6 separate regions of the Homo sapiens genome follow, and regions 1, 2, 3, 4 and 6 are each linked to region 5. The links are contacts of gene promoters, found by promoter capture Hi-C in human tissues and cell types (Jung and others, 2019). All regions are on one chromosome and are shown on one strand. The core of a region is centred on a gene start or on the middle of the fragment in contact, and the rest is flanking DNA. Distances in the headings are between cores, read along the strand shown.

Region 1 (3,149 bases), core at 272-2,771, 380 kb before region 5:
CACTCTGTTGGCCAGACTGGTCTTGAACTCCTGGCCTCCAGTGATCCACTCGCCTTGGCCTCCCAAAGTGCTAGGATTACAGGCATGAGCCACCGCACCCAGCCTCATGGGCTTTTGTTGCTTAGACTTAGTGACTCCTGTTAGGCTGGTCAGAAGTCTTGGCCTCGTGGTCCTCACTGGGCCCTAATAGGTTAGTGGGTTTGCCCAGTAAGTGTTAGTATCCACCTACTCAGTTGAAAGCTGCCCAGTTGCAGGTTTTATGAATGAGTCTACGCTGATCCCACTGCCCCTCTCAGCAACTGTTGTCTGGTGCAGGGCTTCCGCCTGCTTTCTGCTCAAGTGGCCAGCACTAGGAGGACATGCCTGGCTCTGATCTAAATCCCTTTCAGTTGTTATTATCCCATCTGTGACCTCCCTAGAAGCAGCTGCCTCTGGTCGTGACTCTTGAAGGCAGGACTGGGAAGGATTTAATTGTCCATATAAGTTGACTTCTGTATGGGGTATAGAATATATTCAAAATCTCAGCAGCTTAACTCATGTCACATGTGGAACTAGCCCTGAAAAATGTAAGTCTCCCTGTGAAGGTTGGGCTGGCCTCCCATCACAGGCCCCTGACTGCTCTGGGGCCTCCTTGATTCCAAGCCTGTGGAAAGCGATACCGTGGTGGTTGCATACCAGAGAACTGCCTGGCAGAGTGCTCCAGGGTGGCAGTGATGCTTCCCAGGTTCCTGAATTGAGCCCAGCTTCCTGGGCCCAGCAGCTCTGGCAGCATTTTTCCCCTATCGCTGCCTGTGCAGGTCATTCATGTATACATTTCCAGAAGAGTCTGAAAAGCATTTCCAGCAGGCATGCCACCCTGCAGGGAGGAAGGAGGCAAAGGTCAGATTTGCAGGAAGGGGATGATCCTGGGAACACTAGGAGAAGAGATGAGGCCAGGTCGTGAGGCTTTGTTTTTCATCTTAAAGCTAAAGAGATGTGGGATGTAAGAGGAAAGAAACTTGGAAGGAGATGGGGGGTGGCTCCAGGGCAGAGGTCTTAGAGGGTAAAGAAATGACACTCAGGCTCCTTGGTTTGGCTTTGAAAAGAGGTGACTGAGCATTAATGTGAATGTCCCAGCCTGGGTATCCAGGGCCTAGACAGTGGCAGGTCATCAGCCTCCCACCTTTCTGAGTTTCTGGGGGAGATTCTAGGGGGCACAGTGGCTGTTCCCTTCTTCATCCCAAGGAGACCATGTCTCACCAGGTCTCCTGCCCATATCTCACCTTCAAACAGATGACTGATTACTGCACCCCAAAGTCCTCCCTCAACCCCAGACTTCATGTCAGTGGCTTTTGGGAATGCTAAGCTAAGAAGCTTTTACACTGATGCAGCATTTTATTTAAAGTAGGAATTGCAGGGTTATTATTTATTTAGATATTTGCCCGAGGTCACAGGCCCACACAACCTGGCAGGGGCTGGCAGACTAAGGGTGGAGCTGGGTTCTGTGTGTTTCAGAGGGGGCACTGCAGATGTGAAAATTTGCAGAGAGCTCTGGACAGATCTTTCACAAATACCAAGGCTTCACTGTCTATATGATACAGAATATTCTACATCATGTTGTTATTTTTAATGTTTTATTTCTTTCTTTCTTCTTTTATTCACCAAACTTCTGATTGAATGTCTTTCTTGCACTAGGTGCTGTGGAAGCAAAAATAATATAGCTGGGGAGAGAGGAAGATAGATAGTGAAGCCCACTGTGAGGAGAGCGTGGATGCAGCAGAGCAGGGATATCAGAGGACTGCCCAGTGCCTGGGGCTGCTTTGAGCCTTTCCATTTTGCATCAGCACCTCAGGCTTTGTAATGTGGAAGGGTTGTGGTGAGAGGGACACATGGTGAACTGGGGCTGAGAAAATCTGGGTCTAAATCCTGGTCCTGCCACTTACTAGCTGTGTGATCTTGGGCAAGTCACTTGCTCTCCTGAGACCTCAGTTTTCTCATCTGAGAATGAGGATGCCCTCCGGGTGGATATCAAGCTCAAGTGAGGAAATGTTTGGGAAAGCACATTGCACCGGTGGCAAACTTCAAATAAACTCTAAATCAAGCCCCCTTCCACCACTGCCACCCCTGATGATGACACCATGTACGGTGTTTATGTCAAGGACTTTATCAAGAATCTCATAGAGATTCCTCTCACTCCCACCCTCACATCCAAAGCTGGTAATGAAAGCATTATTTTTTTCACTCCTGTTTCACAAGAAGAAAAGTTGAGCCCTAGAACTCTCACATGTCCCACCCCAAGGTGAAGGTTGTATCTTTGCTGCTGAAGGATTGGAGCCATCATCTTGGCCCTTTGACCCCAGTCTGCAGAGCAGACCCAGGGTTACTCCAGCAGCTGGGAGGGTGCTCCAGCTTCCAGCACCTGCCCAAGGTGGGGGCAAGGGTCAGAGTGGGGCAAAGGACGGCCTCACCCATGAGACACTGAGAAAATAGTGCACCAGCCTGGTCCCCAACACCAAGGCAGCCACCTTAGGCCACACCCTACTCAACCCTGAGCAGAGGGGCGCTGCAGCTATGGCAGATGGTACATATGCTCAAATGTGCCATCTTATCTCAGTCTCTCTTCACCCTTTCACCTTCCCCCTTCCCCTTCTCTTTTTTTGCCTCTTTTTTGATGCCATTGATATGTTGGAAAACTAGGCCACTTGTCCTGTTTCACAGTCTGGATTAGACTTGTTCCTTCCTCATGGTGTTCTTTAACTCATTCCTCTGTTCCCTGTATTTCCTGTAACTAGTAGTTAGATCTAGAGGAGATACCCTGCCTATTGGCGCTGTCCAATAGAAATGTAATGTGAACCACATACATAATTTTAAATTTCCTAGTTGCCACACTGACTAAACAAAAAGAAATAGGTGAATTGATTTTAATAATATTTTTATTTAAAATTATTAATGAGATATTTTACATTCTATTTTTCAAACTAAGTCTTCAAAATCCAGTGTGAATTTTATACTTACAGCACATCTCAACCTGTTTTTTTGTTTGTTTGTTTGTTTTTGAGACCGATTCTCACTCTGTTGCCCAGGGTGCAATGGCACAATCACGGCTCACTACAGCCTCGACCTCAGGTGATCCTCTCAACCTCCTAAGTAGCTGGAACTACAGGTGCACA
Region 2 (3,276 bases), core at 498-2,997, 470 kb after region 5:
ATTTAGAGAACTATTATTCCAACATTTCTCCATAAGTTTGCATGAACATCTTGATACTGAGAATCCTCTAAATGACTGGGTAGTCTCCAATGAGGCAAAATTTAAACAAGCTGCCTGGATGCTAGGCTTTGTTAGAAACTACAGACAAAAACGCAAGCACCAGACTAGTCCGTATCACAATCATCAACCTCAATGAATGCACTCCGGATGGTATCATTTTGGATTTCCTGAAAATTAACATTTCAGTAATGATGATTTTGTTAAGAGAAGGGATTAACACTCACCAGGTTTGAAGAACAAAGGATCATTTTTAAATAATCTTAGGGATTCAATTGAATTTTCAAACTTTTCTCTCAAATATAATTCGCCTTGTTCAAAATCATTCTTTTTCTTGCCAGGTTTTGAATTCCGGCATTTGGCTTCATTCTCCTGCTCTGTTTTAAATTTAGTAAAATCATTCTTTTCATTACTTTTGCCTTCTTTTTCTTGCTCAAATGCAACATTCTCTTTCATCATCTTCAAGGCTTTATAAGCTTTCTCTTCTTTCACCTTTTTTATGTCCTTTTCATAATGACGAATTCCACTTAAATGGGAAATCAGTAATCTTGTTGTGACAGAAACCTAATTGTAAAAACATGAAAATTCAATTACAATATTAACCTGAAAAATAGAAAGTTAGTTGCCTCGGAATAATGTCTCAGTAATATTTTCCACTTAGAACTGCTGCTGGGAAAATGTCATGTACAAATCCTTAGCCTCAAATTTCAGAAAAATACCTACCTGATTATCATCTGGATTAAGAAAAACTAATACATTAACAATAACTAAAAACAAGCCAAAGAATCCTATGAAACATTTTAAATATAAATTCCAGCATAAACCATTTAACATGCCATTAGTAAAATGAACTGTGAGTTTCAGTACCTTTTCACCTTCATATTCTTTTTCTGGGAATTCGGGAACATAATGTTGTACTGGAATATCAAGATCCAGTTTCCCTGCTTCCCACAATTTGGCAAGAGCAACCATGGTGAGACTTTTGCTGATGCTAGCAATTCGCATAACTGTCTCTGGTTTACATGGTACACGGTTCTCAACATCAGCATAACCTAAACCTTTGGGGGAAAAAAGCAAAAAGTCACTATTAACAGGCTTCATGGTCAAACAAGTTTTCAAACCCTGAAATAATACTATCTTTAAACATGCTGTGTTTATCTAAAAGAAAAGATACTCCACTTTTATAAGTTACTTAACACTGGACATGTAAAGGATTAAAATCTTAGTATATCGGTAAGCCTAACAATTTAACCTTATAACTAAAGTGAAATTGTACCCTGTTTGCAATAGCAATTTTCTATGACTTAGATACAAATTTTTCTTAGCTTATCTAAACAACTGAGTTATTCCACATTTTAAATAAAGTATTCTTTAAAGAAAACATCATTATTCTTCTTCAGATTATATTTATTTTTGACTTTTGAGTAAATTTCCACTGAATTCCTTGAAATAGCCACTCAATAAAAGTAAGTGTGGGCCGGGCATGGTGACTCATGCCTATAATCTGAGCACTTTGGGTGGCCAAGGTGAGCAGATCACCTGAGATTGGGAGTTCAAGACTAGCCTGGCCAACATGGTAAAACCCCGTCTCTACTAAAAATACAAAAATTGGCCAGTCATGGTGGCGTGTGCCTGTAATCCCAGCTACTCGGGAGGCTGAGGCAGGAGAATCGCTTGAACCTTGGAGGCAGAGGTTGCGGTGAGCTGAGAAAACGCCACTGCACTCCAGCCAGGGCGACAAAGTGAAACTGTCTCAAAAATGTGTGAAAAGATGTCCTGCAAACCAAATCTAGCTAACCATCAATTTAATTCGACTGCAAACCAGGAGGAAAATTATGTACTAACTTAAAGCTTTTTCTAGAAAAAATTTTAAATTTGGTTTCCATGTTCTCACAGGCTGAAAGTGCGTAAATCTAACTAAGAAAGAGAAAGTGCCTGCAATCCCAGCACTTTGGGAGGCGGAGACGGGTGGATTACTTGAGCTCAGGATTTCGAGACTAGCCTGAGCAACATGGCAGAAACCGCATCTCTACAAAATATACAAAAAAAAAAAAGAAAGAAAGAAAGAAAAAAGCCTGGCGTGGTGGAGTGCACCTGTAGTCTCAGCTAGTCAGGAGGCTGAGGTGGGAGAATCATCTGAGCCCAGGAGTTTGAGATTGCAGTGAGCCAAGATCACACCACTGCACGCCAGCCTGGGAGACACAGTAAGAGACCCTGTCCAAAAAATAAATAAATAAATAAATAAAAAGAGAACAGAGATCTGAAAAGAAAAGGAATACAATGACTATAAATTTGTATAATCTTAAATATCTAAAAAATATTTGCATAAAGTCCATAAAGCTGACATTTATATAATTTTTGATTACAAGACTTATCATAAATTAGGTATAATGATTAGATTATACTTATACTTGAAGGAAGAATCATTTTCCTTTTTTAAAAAATTTTAAGCTGGGCACGGTGGCTCACGCCTGTAATCCCAGCACTTTGGGATGCCGAGGCAGGCGCATCACCTGAGGTCGGGAGTTCGAGACCAGCCTGACCAACATGGAGAATCCCCGTCTCTACTTAAAATACAAAAATTAGCCAGGCGTGGTGGTGCATGCCTGTAATCCCAGCTAATCGGGAGGACGAGGCAGGAGAATCACTTGAACCTGGGAGGTGGAGGTTGTGGTGAGCTGAGATCGCACTATTGCACTCCAGCCTGGGCAACAAGAGTGAAACTCCAAAAAAAAAATAAATAAATAAAATTTTTTTTATAGAGACACAGGTGTCGCTATGGTGCCTAAGCTGGTCTCAAACTTCTGGTCTTCAGCCATCCTTCCTCCCTGGACTCCCTAAGCGCTGGGATTACAGGCGTGCGCCACCTCAACTGGCCCATTTTTCTTCAAATTCAAACCCCTACTGCGCCCATCAACTTACTGCCTTTAAATGGCATATGAAACATTTTTTTTTCTTTTTTTTTGAGACAGAGTCTCGCTGTTGCCCAGGCTGGAGTGCAGTGAACGATCTTGGCTCACTGCAAACCTCCGCCTCCCGAGTTCAAGCGATTCTCGTATCCTGGCCTCCCGAGTAGCTGAGATTACAGGCACGCACTAGCATGGCTGGCTAATTTTTTGTGTTTTTAGTAGAGATGGGGTTTTGCCACGTTGTCCAGGCTGGTCTCGAACTCCTAAGCTCAGGCAACCCACCTGCCTCTGCCTCTCAAAGTGCTAGGAT
Region 3 (3,139 bases), core at 1-2,500, 280 kb before region 5:
ACCAGTTGGGATGTCTCTGCCTCCTCTGGGTAAAGGATGTTTCTTGAGCTATAGGGCAGGGCCCAGAGTATAGTCCTAGCTGTCCATCCATGGGGCACAGCCAGGTGAAGAACCCTCTCCCCACACTGCCTGGGGTCACTGACCTCAAGTTCAAACCCTGCTTGGTGAAGATGATTCTGCTGATGATGCCAACGTTCAGGTCAGCCTCAGCTGTTCAGAGCATGTCTACCCACAGGCCATGCTGTAGCCAATGTGGTCAAAGCCAGCCCCAGATAACCTTCTGGGAACCCTGCTCTAGGCTCCAGCTTTGGTATTAGCCAGGGTGCTCAGAGCTTGGCCCAAGGCTCTTGGTGCAGTGGCTACTCTCTAGGCCTTGCTGTGGAGCAGCTATGGCAGGGGCAGCCTCCTCAGCCTGCCAGGCCTGAGGGAGGGAGGAAGGAAGGGAGGAAGGAAGAAAGGAAGGAAGGGAGGGACAAAAAAAAAAAACCCAAGCAAATATTGGGGCTCAGAACACAATATCCCAAAATATGGCACTCTAGCACTCTGAGTTATTTGGACTGGAAGGGATGGGAAGGGCCTCAAAAGCAAGTCTTGCTGATCCTCTCCTGCCTTCCTTTTTCTTTCCCTCCTTTCTCCTTACCCAGTATTGCCCCTGAAAGAGGTCATAGAAACTAGAACTCCTCTCCCCAGTGCAAGCCACGAAACCTAGAAATGTCACTCTCTAACCTCTTCCCATCTCCCTGGAAGACCCTCATACGACAGGGGTCCTGCCCCTTACTCAGGAAGGAAAGAACGCTACACAGAGAGGCCGTAGAGAAGCTGAACAAGAGGCCTTGCTGTGTTCTGCCTTCAGTCTATCACCATTAGAGCACACCCTCTTTCCAATCACATTTCTACATGGCTGTCTGTTCTTTATTGGACCTAAGCTTAAAAATACACAGTTTTCCCTTTGTCTCTGGATCTTCATTTCTGAAGCCTCTCGCATCACGTAAAACTTAGATTAAATAAATGTGTTATGCTTTTCTCTCGTTAATCTGTTTTTTGTCATGGGGGTATTGGCCATGGACCTTGGAATGGGTGAGGAAAAGGTACTACACCTCTTTGCCCTACAAAAGCAGGCTGGCAAGTAGGATGGCCCAGCACCTATTGCATGCCAAGTGTCTTCACTCAGGCAGTTCCATCCGTGTCTAAACAACCTCGCACTTTTCACTTCCCCACTTTGGGGATGAGGAAGCTGAGACTCAAAGGGGCAGATTATTCGTCTTAGATCACTCAGCTGGCAAATGGAAGAAATAGTGTTTGAAACCACAATCTGTTGCAGCCTCCCAGATGGGTACCTGCCCACCAGAAGGTCTTATGCCTAGTGTTCCATTATTGGAATGCTAAGCAGGTGGGAGTTATTTATATCCTGCGGCTCAAGGTCATCACCAAGGCCTGATTTTTCACACACGTCTGCAATTCAAATTGTAACCTCTGGGCCGGGCACAGTGGCTCCTGCCTGCAATCCCAGCACTTTAGAAGGCTGAGGCAGGTGGATCATTTGAGGTCAGGAGTTTGAGACCAGCCTGGTCAACATGGTGAAACCCTGTCCCTACTAAAAATACAGAAATTAGCTGGGCATGGCAGCCTGTAATCCCAGCTACTTGGGAGGCTGAGGTGGGAGAATCACTTGAGCCTGGCAGGCGGAGGTTGCAGTGAGCTGAGACCACGCCACTGCCCTCCTGTGTGGGCATCAGAGTGAGACCCTGCCTAAAAAAAAAAAAAAAAGTAACCTCTTAAGCTCTCTCCTTAGCTTCTGGGAAAAATGAGTAGGGGAACTCATTCACACTAGAATTCTAATATAGGTTAATAATATCCTCTTTCCCAGGGGGCTCCAAGATGTGGACCCAAGTCTCACCTTTCTCTATCTCCCTCACAGCCAGTCATGACCATGCGATGGCCTCGGACCGTAGAAAGTAGTTTAACTGAACTGTTTCTCTTGGGAATTTCCCCTAAAGCTGAGGCATTTCCTTCTAAGTCTCACTGGAAAGTTCCCAAGAGCCCACGAGGTCAAGGCTACAGTGAGTGATATTTGCACCACAGTGCTCCAGCTTGGGTGACAGAACAAGACTCTGTCTCAATAAATAGATTAATAAATAAATAAATAAATAAAGTACTGAAATCTGTATTGGCAGGTGCATCAAGACGTAGAAACTCTCCTTGCTCATTTTGGTTCTGTGAACTTCCAAGTACCTTTGAGAACCCCCAAGGAATCCAACTCGATTTCTTTCCTTTCAACTTAACCCATTTTCTAAATACCGTGCATCTCAGCTCTGTGCTAAGGTGCTTGGATTGTGCTGAAGAAGTCATAATCTCCATCCTTAAATGGTTGTACAAACTAAGGAAATAAAAGCCTCTCAGTGGATGGTATTTAGAGATGAAAGAATTATATACAGGAAGGAAAAATGTAGAGTGAGGCTTCCCAACTGGGCAAGGGACCCTCACAGGCTGTTACTTGGGTCCCCCAGTGTCCTCTCAAGTTTTGCCTAGGATTGGGGTCCCCAGGTGTGCTGTTGGGGGCCCAGGCCCCACAAGGGTAGCTCTCTGAAGAGGTCCATTTGTCCCTACTGACTCTGAGGGCACAGCTGTTGAGATCTGGGTCCCTGGGATGAGCATCTTGGGAGCTGCCTCTAGGCTAGCCTTCTCTTGGTGTACTCCCTCAGCATTCCTGGAGCCTGGTTGGGGGCTGGCCCTAGGGAGCCCGCCCCTGCCTGTGCAGAGTTGCTCCTGGCCCAGGGGAGAGTGAATGCATTGTGCTCAGGCCTCAGTAAGAGGCAGCCTTGGCAACCAGAATCCTGAGGGAGGGTGTGCCTGGCAGGTCCCCTATGGACTCAACCAGCCACTGTCCTCATCACCAAGCATTAGTTTGGACACTAGCTGCACCCTGCTACCAACAAGAGATCAAAGAATCATGTCTGGGACATAGAGTCCAGAGACCTGGGCTCTAGTCCTGGCCCTGTCACTAATTCTCGGGGCAAACTTGGTCATATTTGTTACCTCATATGTGCCAGACACTGTGCAAGATACTTCACATACTTAAGGCCAGGCACGGTGGCTCACGCCTGTAACCCCAGGACTTTGGGAGGCCGAAGCAAGTGGA
Region 4 (3,179 bases), core at 417-2,916, 330 kb before region 5:
CTCATTACCTTGTGCAGTCTGTCCCAAAGGCACCTGGAATTCAGATTTGAAAAGTTTAAGTGGCAGGGTTTTCAAGCCAGTTCAGGTTGGGAGTAGGAGCTGGTAGGCTCAGAGAGGTCAGTACAGTGGGATGGTGGAAGACATGCTAACCCTATCCCTTCTCCAGGGGCCAGGGTGAGTCCCGTGGCTGTGGGGTCAAAGAAGGAAATAGGCAGGGAATTGCAGGGCGCTGGGTACCCAGAGCATGCTCTGGATGGGGCAGGAAGAAAGGTCCACAGACTAGAACACCATGTCCTCTCCATCCCACAGACTTCAGAGAGGGCCAGAGTGGGGTTGTCTGGAGTGCAAGGGCCCTGATTTTCCTGTCTAAGAACAGTGCTAGGGAGAGTTGCTTACCTGGGTACAGAGCAGCGAAAGGCAGAGAACGGATCCAGGAGGCAAACAGAAAAACAGACCAGGGATTTAGCAATGGAGAGTTGGCTTTTGGAAGATTCTGGAAGCTCATTGGAGCATTTATGACTCTTCTTAGGCCTTTCAGCTTTGGGACTAATAGTATGGGTGTAGGTAACAAGGCCACTCTATTGAGGGGTCTGTCTGGACTGCTTCCTTCCCCTGGAGTGCAGGATTTGCAGCCAGCTCCCATCCATCTCTGCATCCTCCATTCCACTGGTTTGACGGCAGTGGCCAAATAATGCCAAAATATAGGTCTAAAAAGAGTGAGAACGGAGATGGTTGCTCCCAACTTCTGTCCTCATGGATCATCACTGTTTCCCAATCCTCATTGCAGGAAACGGCTCACAATCCAAGAGGCTCTCAGACACCCCTGGATCACGGTAAGGGCACAGCCATGAGTTCCAATGGGCAAAGGGTCCCTGCTCTGTCGCCAGGGTTGGCCTGGGCAGCCAGATGCAGAGGGCCCATGGAGAGGCCTTTGCTTTAAACACTGACCCTGGGCACAGATGAAAGCTAGCCAGGGGCCCCAGAGGGCCTGGGCTTATTCGAATAGGTTTATTTGCTTGCTATTTTAAGTTTGTGTGTCTCAAATTCAGGTAACTTATGAAATGAAACCCTCACAAACCACAGTTGAAACCCTTTTTCTTTGGGGCCAACTTACACAGTGTTCTTTGTTGAAGGGTATGTCACTGCCACTTCTCCAAGTGGAAATCAGGACTCCCCAGGTGTAGAAAGATAGATGACAATTGAAAACCCCCACTTTGTGACCAGGCCTCCTTCCTTCTGATTTTTGGGGCTCTAAGTCAAGGATGACACTTAAATCAGCCACCCACCTCCTCAGGCCCTGAGGAATGGGGCCTGAGACAGAGGCCTGGTGGGGAAGAGAGACAGCCACTGTTAGGGCAATTCTGTTCCCTCTGGGGAGAGTCAGGGCAAAAAAATGAATCCCTGCCTAACTCGCCTTGCAGTCGGGCTTCCTGCTGGCTTTCCAGTCAGCTGCTGGCTTTCCAGAGGCTCTTGTGGTCTGGTGTGGTGAAGAGCACTTTGAGAGGGTGAGACTCAGCAGGATTCAGGCCCTAATTCTGCTGACTGACCAGCTATGCACACCCAGGGACGTCACCAGACTTCCCATTCACCTTAACTGTTATGTGAGAAGGCCAGCAAGGATGAAATGACCATAAGAAAGGTGGAGATAAGAAAAGGTGAGGCAGGCCAGGTGCAGTGGCTCATGCCTGTAATCCCAGCACTTTGGGAGGCCGAGGCAGCAGAAGGATGACTTGAGCCCAGGAGTTCAAGACCAACTTGAGCAACATGCCAAGACCCCATCTCTCTAAAAAATAATAATCAATCAATCAATACAAAGAGAAGGTGAGGCCTGTGGAAGACAGAACAGGGAGGGCTGGAGTCGTCTGGGAAGAGGTCAGCTTTATCTGCTCAGCTTCATCAGCTCATTGAAGGATGGGGAAGGCCCAAGGAGCCCTGAAGGAGAGATGCTCCTCAGCCCTGCTGCGTGAGCCCTGGCCTTGCGTGCTCCAGCCCTGCGCAGATGCCTGCGGAGTCCTGGCTGCAGCCTGCTTGTCTGCGTGAGCACCCCTTAAATGCTATGTGTGTGGAGCTCTCTCTAATGGCTGTGGACCCTTCTGCCCTGAATGAGCATGCAGACAGCACCCCCACACTCCTTGACCTCACTTATGGCCTAAGGAGGTGCTCATCCCACCCTGGTTCTCCCCATGGCCTGACGCATGCAGTGAATGCCAGAGGCCGCTTGTGTGCCTTCTGCCTACCCTTTGGACTGCCCTCTGGGGTGGGCGGCAAATTAACACTCTGATTCTTCTGTCTGAACACCCACCAGTCAAAAGGAGAAGGCAGAGCCCCTGAACAGCGGAAGACAGAGCCCACCCAGCTGAAGACCAAGCACCTGAGAGAGTACACTCTCAAATGCCACTCAAGCATGCCTCCCAACAACTCCTATGTCAACTTCGAGCGTTTTGCCTGTGTGGTGGAAGACGTGGCTCGGGTCGACCTGGGATGCCGTGCCCTGGTGGAGGCCCACGATACCATCCAGGACGATGTGGAGGCCCTGGTCTCCATCTTCAATGAGAAGGAAGCTTGGTACCGAGAGGAGAATGAGAGCGCCCGGCATGACCTGTCCCAGCTCAGGTATGAGTTCCGCAAGGTGGAGTCATTGAAGAAGCTGCTGCGAGAAGACATCCAGGCCACGGGATGTAGCCTCGGAAGCATGGCCAGGAAACTGGACCATCTGCAAGCCCAGTTTGAGATTCTGAGGCAGGAGCTCTCCGCAGACCTGCAGTGGATTCAGGAGCTGGTGGGCAGCTTCCAGCTGGAGAGTGGGAGCTCTGAGGGCCTGGGCTCCACATTCTACCAGGACACCAGTGAATCCCTGTCAGAGCTGCTCAGCAGATCATGCACTGAGGAATTTCTGGCAGGCTGGAAGCTCTAATCGCCAGAATCCAGTCAGTGATGCATCCCAAGAGGTTTGCAGAAGCATGTTCTCATCCACCCTGCTGCGGCCTCCAGCTAGAATTATCCTGCAGGGGTGTGTGTCTGTAGTATAGCCTTCCAGCCCCTCCACAGAATCCAGAATTGCTGAGGTGCCAGTTAATTCTTCATTCTGCACCTCCCCTCACCAATCTGGTTTTCTGGGAGGGCTCTGGCAGGGCAGCCAAGCTGTTAAAACAATTAGAGAGTGAGTACCCCTCAGGGTC
Region 5 (3,219 bases), core at 175-2,674:
CCTTGTCCAGTCGGGGCCCAACCCCAAGTCCATCTTCTGTTTTCTTCCTACCAGCTCAAAAGAAAGGTGGGGTCACTACGCTGTTTCCTTCCACTCCTGTCGTGCTGCCAGCAAATAGCAGCTATGAACTTGGGTGGCAGTAAACTGGCTGAGTCTAGTTTTCCATGAACAGCCAGGGCCAGTTTGTTATATGATCAAGGGGGTGTTTTTCCTCAAAGGCAGCACGGGACTGGCAGAAGCTCAGTGAGAGGCTGGTTGAATAGCTCTGTGTTCTTGCCTGGGCCGCTCTGCCCATGAGGCTGGGACCATGGAGGGAGCCTGGCCTGGTGGTTCAGTGTCTATGTCTGTGTCTGGGGTGGGGGTTAGCAGATAAACACAAGATGTATTTGGGACATACTTACACTAAAATATTATTCACTGTTTATCTGAAATTCATATTTAACTGGGCAGCCTATATATTTGCTAAAATCTGGCAACCCTAGACTGGGCAAATCATACCACCTCGTGGAGCATCAGTTTGCTAATTTGAAAAATTAGGCTAAGCCACCCTCCTTAGGAATACTGTGTAAATCAGTAATTCATCTACTCCTGGAGTCTGGTTTGGCTCAGCTGACCTGAGCACCCTGGCTTCTCCACCTCTGGCTCCCCACCCTCTCTTTCCTCCGTAGTTTCCCAGGCCTTGAGGGCTGCTTGCTAGGCCTAATGGAGGGGTGAGCTGATTGCTGCATCTGGAAGCCTTTTCCCAGAGCCTGACCTTGAAAATCCAGGCCCAGCTGGACCCACCCAGCACTTAATGACTACCAGTACGGAGGCCCCACTTCTTGGTGTTTGCATGAAGCAGCCCAGGACCTGTGAGGCTAAGAGGAGGATTAGCAATTGTTTCCCTCATGATTTTATTGTCTCCTGGGGACCCTGCTTTGGGCGGTCTGGATGTCTGCCTTGGGCCTAGTTTGAGGCGCCCCGAAGGTGGAGCCATCTTGGTCTCGTAATTTGCTCTTCCCTGCCCCCCAAGAGGGAAGCCAGAGCTAGCGGGGCCAGCACTGCTCAGGAGGCAAGGTGGCCTACCTGTCGCACACCCGGAGGAGGAAATCATTGACCAGGCTCTCGTGCCGGCTGCAGATGCTTCTCTGGAAGGCACTCTTGAGCCAGTCCTCAATGCTGCACACCTGCACGCGGCTGGAGTGCCAGCAGATGGAGAGGCTGCGGAGTGCCGGGCCCAGGAGGAAGTTGTCCTTCTGGAGTTCAGTGAGGGAACGGAAGTGCAGCAGGGACCAGAGTGCGGGGTCCTCAAACACGTCGTGGAGCTGGGAGCAGGTCCTGGCAAGGCTCTTCCTGCTGTCCTTGTCTAGGAAGGAGAAGAGGTGCAGCAGGCACTCCCGGTTGAGCTGGGTTATGTGCATGGTGAGCAGTGGCCACATGTGAGTGCAGCTGCAGCCGGGGGACGGCTGACCTGCCTCCTCTCCTCCTCCCCGACTCTGGGCCGGTGGACATATATGGTTGAGGAATGGTGTTTATTTTTGGCTAACAACTGGTGCTGAAGCTCTGCGGAGGGGTGAGGGAAGAAAAGCCAGGACCCAGACACATGTGCGGCAGTCTGTGGTTCGGCTTATGTTCAGAGGGATTGGAGGTCCTGGCAGAAAAGGAGCCTATTGAAGTTACTTTCCTTAAAAGGGATTTTTTTTTTCCCTTTAGCTGACAATGGTGTTTAGCAGTGAGCACTTTTGGCTTTTCCCAAGGCGTTTTCATTGGCAGTGGTGGCGGCCAGGCCAGCTCTGTCTGGCTTTGCAGTCTGTACTTAGGGGGAAGGAGTGTAATTGTAAATGTTAACTGTTTTGATTTTCTAGTACATCAGTGTGAATCTTTTGCTCCACCCTTACTAGGAAGAAACCTGTTGCGTGTGGAGAGCTAAGGGTGACGGTTGTGAGTTGTGAGCAGAGTCCATGGCTGCTGCCTCATTCCTGTTATTTTTGTGCCATAGAGTAATTGTCTCCAGGCTAGGCTGGTTGGCCTTCAAGCCCTGCTGCCTGCCACTAGGCAGGGGGATTTTCCTGGGCCTCCCCAACAGCTAGATTTTTACCCTGAGTTGTTTCATAAAAGAATTTTACTGAAGTAGCTGCTTTCCAAAGTTGTGTGTCTGTGTTTTATGTTTTATTGGTGCTTTGTTGTTGTTGTTGTTGTTTTTGTAGTTTTGGTCAAGCAGTACTTTCTGTGTTTTAAATTTAAATTTACTTGGCTTTACATTTTCTCACTGATAAGGCCTTGTACTATGTATAACCTGTACTTCCCAAAATGTCAGGATGGATGAGGTAGCTCTTAATGTGAAACTGCTTGAAACAATTTTAAGTTCAGTATTTTAGTCCATCTTTGCCTTTAAGTTGACCACACACCATCCATTCTATGAGTGCCCTCCGTTCCCTCTTGGAGAAGCCAGTGGGCCACCCCTGCCCTCTCTGACTCAACTCTAGGCAAGGTGCCTGGAGGTACTATCCGTGAAGCTCCCCCTTCCTGAGTACCCGAGGCTTCACGATATGGCAGACCCGTTTCCTCATGCTGCTTCACTCCCAAACCCAGGACCCAACCTTAACTCTCCTGCTTTGAATCCCAGTCGTTGTTTTTTGGTTTGCTTGGGGGATGCTGATATGGTGCAGCTGTATAGGCCACGTTCTGCCTAGGCAATAGTGAGAAGAGAATGGTTTTTCCTCTGCCAGCCCAGGGACCACCACCTCAGTGGTTACTTCTGTTTGTTCTCCCATTTGGAATAAGAGGGAATGGGAATCCTTGTGTTTTCCCATAGACACAAATGAAGCAGCCTATGCTGAACCCACTTCTGGAACTAAGGTTTGGTCAGGGCTGGTGCAGCTTTGCCTTTAAAGCAGAAGGCAGTCAAGCAAAGAAGGAAGTAGCCATTGTCAGTGGCTTTCCTGAGAAGCCAGCCTCAGCTGGTGCCCCTGTGCCTCCATTACTCCACCATGCCAAGATGAAGTACAGTAGGGGGTTCTCTTAAAAACAAACCAAGGAGGTCGAAAGGAAGCATTTCCCAAGGAAGGGGAGCAAGATACTGCTGCTATTTCAAGCTCATCAATGTAGTTCTGAATTATAGCTGACACCCTAATTTAGGCTCTGTCTAGGTGTACTTCTCCACTTAAAATGGATGCTGCAAAACCACAGGTGGTGTTATTAGAAAGCCACATTATCTCCACTTTCCCTCCCCAATCCTCC
Region 6 (3,045 bases), core at 509-3,008, 300 kb before region 5:
GTCCAGGGCCTGACTTTTCCTTCATAGAGACGTTGTAGTTCACCTCTTACGCGTGGTGGCGTGTGCCTGTAAGCCCAGCTACTCAGGAGGCTGAGGAAGGAGAATTGCTTGAACCCGGGAGGTGGGGGTTGAAGTGAGCCAAGATCATGCCACTGCACTCCAGCCTGGGTGACAGAGTGAGACTCCCACTCAAAAAAAAAAAAAAAAAATCTCCACAGTGTAACTCTGCTGTGGTTGGTGTGTATCTGCCTTTTTCACTCGTTTTTATAGATGAAATACTATTTTATGATGCATCCCAACAAGTATTTGTTAATTTCAAGACAGTAGTGGATAAAAGTGAGGTGCATGGGGGGTTAAGGTAAGAAAGAAGCTGGGAAGGCCGGGCACAGTGGCTCACGCCTGTAATCCCAGCATTTTGGGAGGCTGAGGTGAACAGATCACCTGGGGTCAGAAGTTCGAGACCAGCCTGGCCAACATGGTGAAATCCTGTCTCTACTAAAAATACAAAAATTATCCAGGCATGGTGGCGGGCGCCTGTCATTCCAGCTACTCAGGAGGCTGAAGCAGAAGAATCACTTGAACTTGGGAGGTAGAGGTTGCAGGGAGCTGAGATTGCACCACTGCACTCCAGCCTGGGCAAGAAAAGCGAAACTCTGTCTCGAAAAGAAGAAAAAAAAAAGAAGAAAAAGCTGGGAAGAATTATGTTGCCATTGAAACTTAGAAATATACTTCAAATAGCCAAAGAGTTTCATTGTTTTGGCTGCTTCACTTATTTACACACTTTGCCCCTGTGAGCAGGCACTGAGTGTTTGTCTCTGGGCTGGCTGGCAAGACAGAGGGTGGTGGAGGTGCTTGGAAGATCTGTCCGGAAGGGCCGGGCAGCCTGACGGAAGGTCGTGCAAGCTTCCCGTCTGTGGGTGCAAGAGGAAGCTCTGGATGGGAGCTCTTTGAAGGGAAGGACTGTGTCAGTTCATTTATGGGGCTCCACAGTGTGCTGGTGCCTGGCAGATGGTATGAAGATCTGAGGAGGAAAGGTGGGGTGGGAGGGAATGAAGGAGGGAATGAAGGAAGGAGGGAAGGAGATAAGAAGTGTGGCAGCCCCGGAAGTGCCTTCAAGAGAGAACCCGCAGCAAAGAGTGCTATTCACTGCTGGCCCCCAGCTGCCACCCCTTCAGGGTGTTGTATTAGTTTGCTAAGTGCCAGCTGACTTTTCAAATACTGTTCTAGCCTGTAGGTTTAAGTCCAAAGAGACATGAAGGCACCTGGAGCATGAGCTGGCAAACTCAGCCCAGTTGGCCTTGGAAGTTGTCCTCAGACCCACGTCCTTACTCAAACTCCAAGAGGAGGCGATGTTTGAGGAGGCAGGGCTGGGAGGGGCAGGGGTATATTCTACCCCTTCTCCTTAAAAGGGGAATAAAAATCCCAGCCCAGGTATTCTCAGAGCATTCTCAGAGTAGCCACAAGGTCTTCACTCTCCGTAGGCTGCTTTTGGCCAGTGATTGAGCATGGTGGGATGGGAGACACGCGGCGGGTACTCGAACCAGGCCATTCCTGCCCAGCATGGGACCCTTCTAATATTTGCCCCTGGACTGCTCATCACCTGGCTGAGCCCTTCTCTGGGTTGCTCTGCCATCAGAGGCACTTCCTAGCCAGCCCTCCTTCCTTCCCACCCTCCTTCCTTAGGTGTCACACCTACATCATGGCCTGAAAGCTCTCCCTTGCCTACTCCTGCTTCCTTTCCCCTTCATCCTTCATAGGCGTTCCTCATCCCACACCCCAGGTCTCCAGCACTTCTCATCCCATCTTGGCATCTGCTTCCTGAAGAATCTGAACCCACATAGGAGAGAGGGCAAAAGGAGGAAAGTTTGAATTTGCTCCTTCTTTTTGTCTCCACTGATTCCTTTGGCAGGCATGGACTGACACAGCCACTGCACTCACCTTAAAGCTGTCAGCTGGGGACAGTGGTGCACCTGTAGTCCCAGCCACTTGGGAGGCTGAGGCGAGAGGACTGCTTGGGTCCAGGAGTTGGAGGCTACATTGCAAACTATGATTGTATCTGTGAATAGTCACTGCAGTGAGACCTGTCTCTTAAAGAAAGACAAAAAGGAAAAGAAAGCTGTGAACAGAGCAGTTGGTACTCAATTCGTCTTTAAAAAAAAAAATCAATGGTGGGCCAGGCGCGGTGGCTCACACCTGTAATCCCATCACTTTGGGAGGCTGAGGCAGGTGGATCACCTGAGGTCGGGAGTTCGAGACCAGCCTGGCCAATATGGTGAAACCCTGTTTCTAATAAAAATACAAAAATTAGCTGGGCATGCTGGTGGGCACTGTAATCCCAGCTACTTGGGAAGCTGAGGCAGGTGACTCGCTTGAACCCGGGAGGCAGAGGTTGCAGTGAGCCAACATGGCACCATTGCACTCCAGCCTGGGAAACAATAGTGAAACTCCATCTCAAAAAAAAAAAGAGACCAAGAAGCATGACATGAGGGGCGCATGGGAGAAGCTGCGGTTTCTAACTCTGGGAATCTGGAGGACTATATGAACAAGGTGGACTTTAATTTGGCCTTAAAGGATGGGTGCTAAGAGAAGGGACAGGAAGTTATGGGTTAGTATTCTGATTGCTTGTCCTTACGCCTTCTCGTGGCTGAACTTTGGAAAGCTACCAATTAAATGAAAGAATGAGACTTCTGCGGGTTAACTGCACGGTGGTGAATTAGTAGTTCTACCATTTTCCCCTTCTCTGTCCATTGTGACCCTGGTTCTTGGTCAGAGACCAGAGGGCCCTGTCGGAGAGCCAGTGGCCATCTGTTGGGGTTGGCAGAGGCATTCAAGGTCAGGCATACGGGACAGATCTGATTCTTCCTGAGTCCTCTGGAGGAGTCTGTGTGTGTGTGTGTGTGTGTGTGTGTGTGTGTGTGTGTGTGTGTGTCTGGCTGTATTCGGGTAACTGTGTGTTTCTGGGCATACCTAGGCACCCGTTGTGGACATGTCTCTGTGGGGTGTGTGGACGTGTGTGGATGTGTCTGGGTGTTTGTGTGTGTGGAT

What was found. The method cuts DNA at HindIII sites, captures the fragments that hold promoters and counts their contacts. A contact is called where the count stands out against the background at its distance.
Region 1: a fragment that was not itself captured here is called in contact with the fragment with the promoter of FBXL22 in region 5 in 1 of the 25 tissues and cell types used here (mesendoderm cells).
Region 2: a fragment that was not itself captured here is called in contact with the fragment with the promoter of FBXL22 in region 5 in 1 of the 25 tissues and cell types used here (mesendoderm cells).
Region 3: a fragment that was not itself captured here is called in contact with the fragment with the promoter of FBXL22 in region 5 in 1 of the 25 tissues and cell types used here (H1 embryonic stem cells).
Region 4: a contact is called between a fragment that was not itself captured here and the fragment with the promoter of FBXL22 in region 5, in 2 of the 25 tissues and cell types used here (dorsolateral prefrontal cortex and heart right ventricle).
Region 6: a fragment that was not itself captured here is called in contact with the fragment with the promoter of FBXL22 in region 5 in 1 of the 25 tissues and cell types used here (bladder).

Annotation. Positions count from the first base shown.
Region 1 is chr15:63,976,586-63,979,734 of GRCh38, reverse strand. All of the region lies in intron 3 of DAPK2 (death associated protein kinase 2), which reads left to right. Among named protein-coding and RNA genes, the nearest start is that of DAPK2, 68 kb to the left of the region's middle. The HindIII fragment of the contact is 5,270 bases long and covers 1-3,149 here.
Region 2 is chr15:63,124,698-63,127,973 of GRCh38, reverse strand. It overlaps LACTB (lactamase beta), which reads right to left. Exons shown (of 6, transcript NM_032857.5): 3 at 925-1,115; 4 at 285-621. Among named protein-coding and RNA genes, the nearest start is that of LACTB, 4.5 kb to the right of the region's middle. The HindIII fragment of the contact is 3,214 bases long and covers 141-3,276 here.
Region 3 is chr15:63,879,821-63,882,959 of GRCh38, reverse strand. No RefSeq gene overlaps it. Among named protein-coding and RNA genes, the nearest start is that of MIR422A, 10 kb to the right of the region's middle. The HindIII fragment of the contact is 4,145 bases long and covers 1-3,139 here.
Region 4 is chr15:63,922,470-63,925,648 of GRCh38, reverse strand. It overlaps DAPK2 (death associated protein kinase 2), which reads left to right. Exons shown (of 12, transcript NM_014326.5): 9 at 788-833. Among named protein-coding and RNA genes, the nearest start is that of MIR422A, 53 kb to the right of the region's middle. The HindIII fragment of the contact is 4,893 bases long and covers 1-3,179 here.
Region 5 is chr15:63,595,592-63,598,810 of GRCh38, reverse strand. FBXL22 (F-box and leucine rich repeat protein 22) reads right to left here and starts at 1,424. Exons shown (of 2, transcript NM_001367807.1): 1 at 1,066-1,424. The coding sequence starts at 1,418. All of the region lies in intron 1 of USP3-AS1 (USP3 antisense RNA 1), which reads left to right. The HindIII fragment of the contact is 12,633 bases long and covers 1-3,219 here.
Region 6 is chr15:63,897,304-63,900,348 of GRCh38, reverse strand. No RefSeq gene overlaps it. Among named protein-coding and RNA genes, the nearest start is that of MIR422A, 28 kb to the right of the region's middle. The HindIII fragment of the contact is 3,616 bases long and covers 1-3,045 here.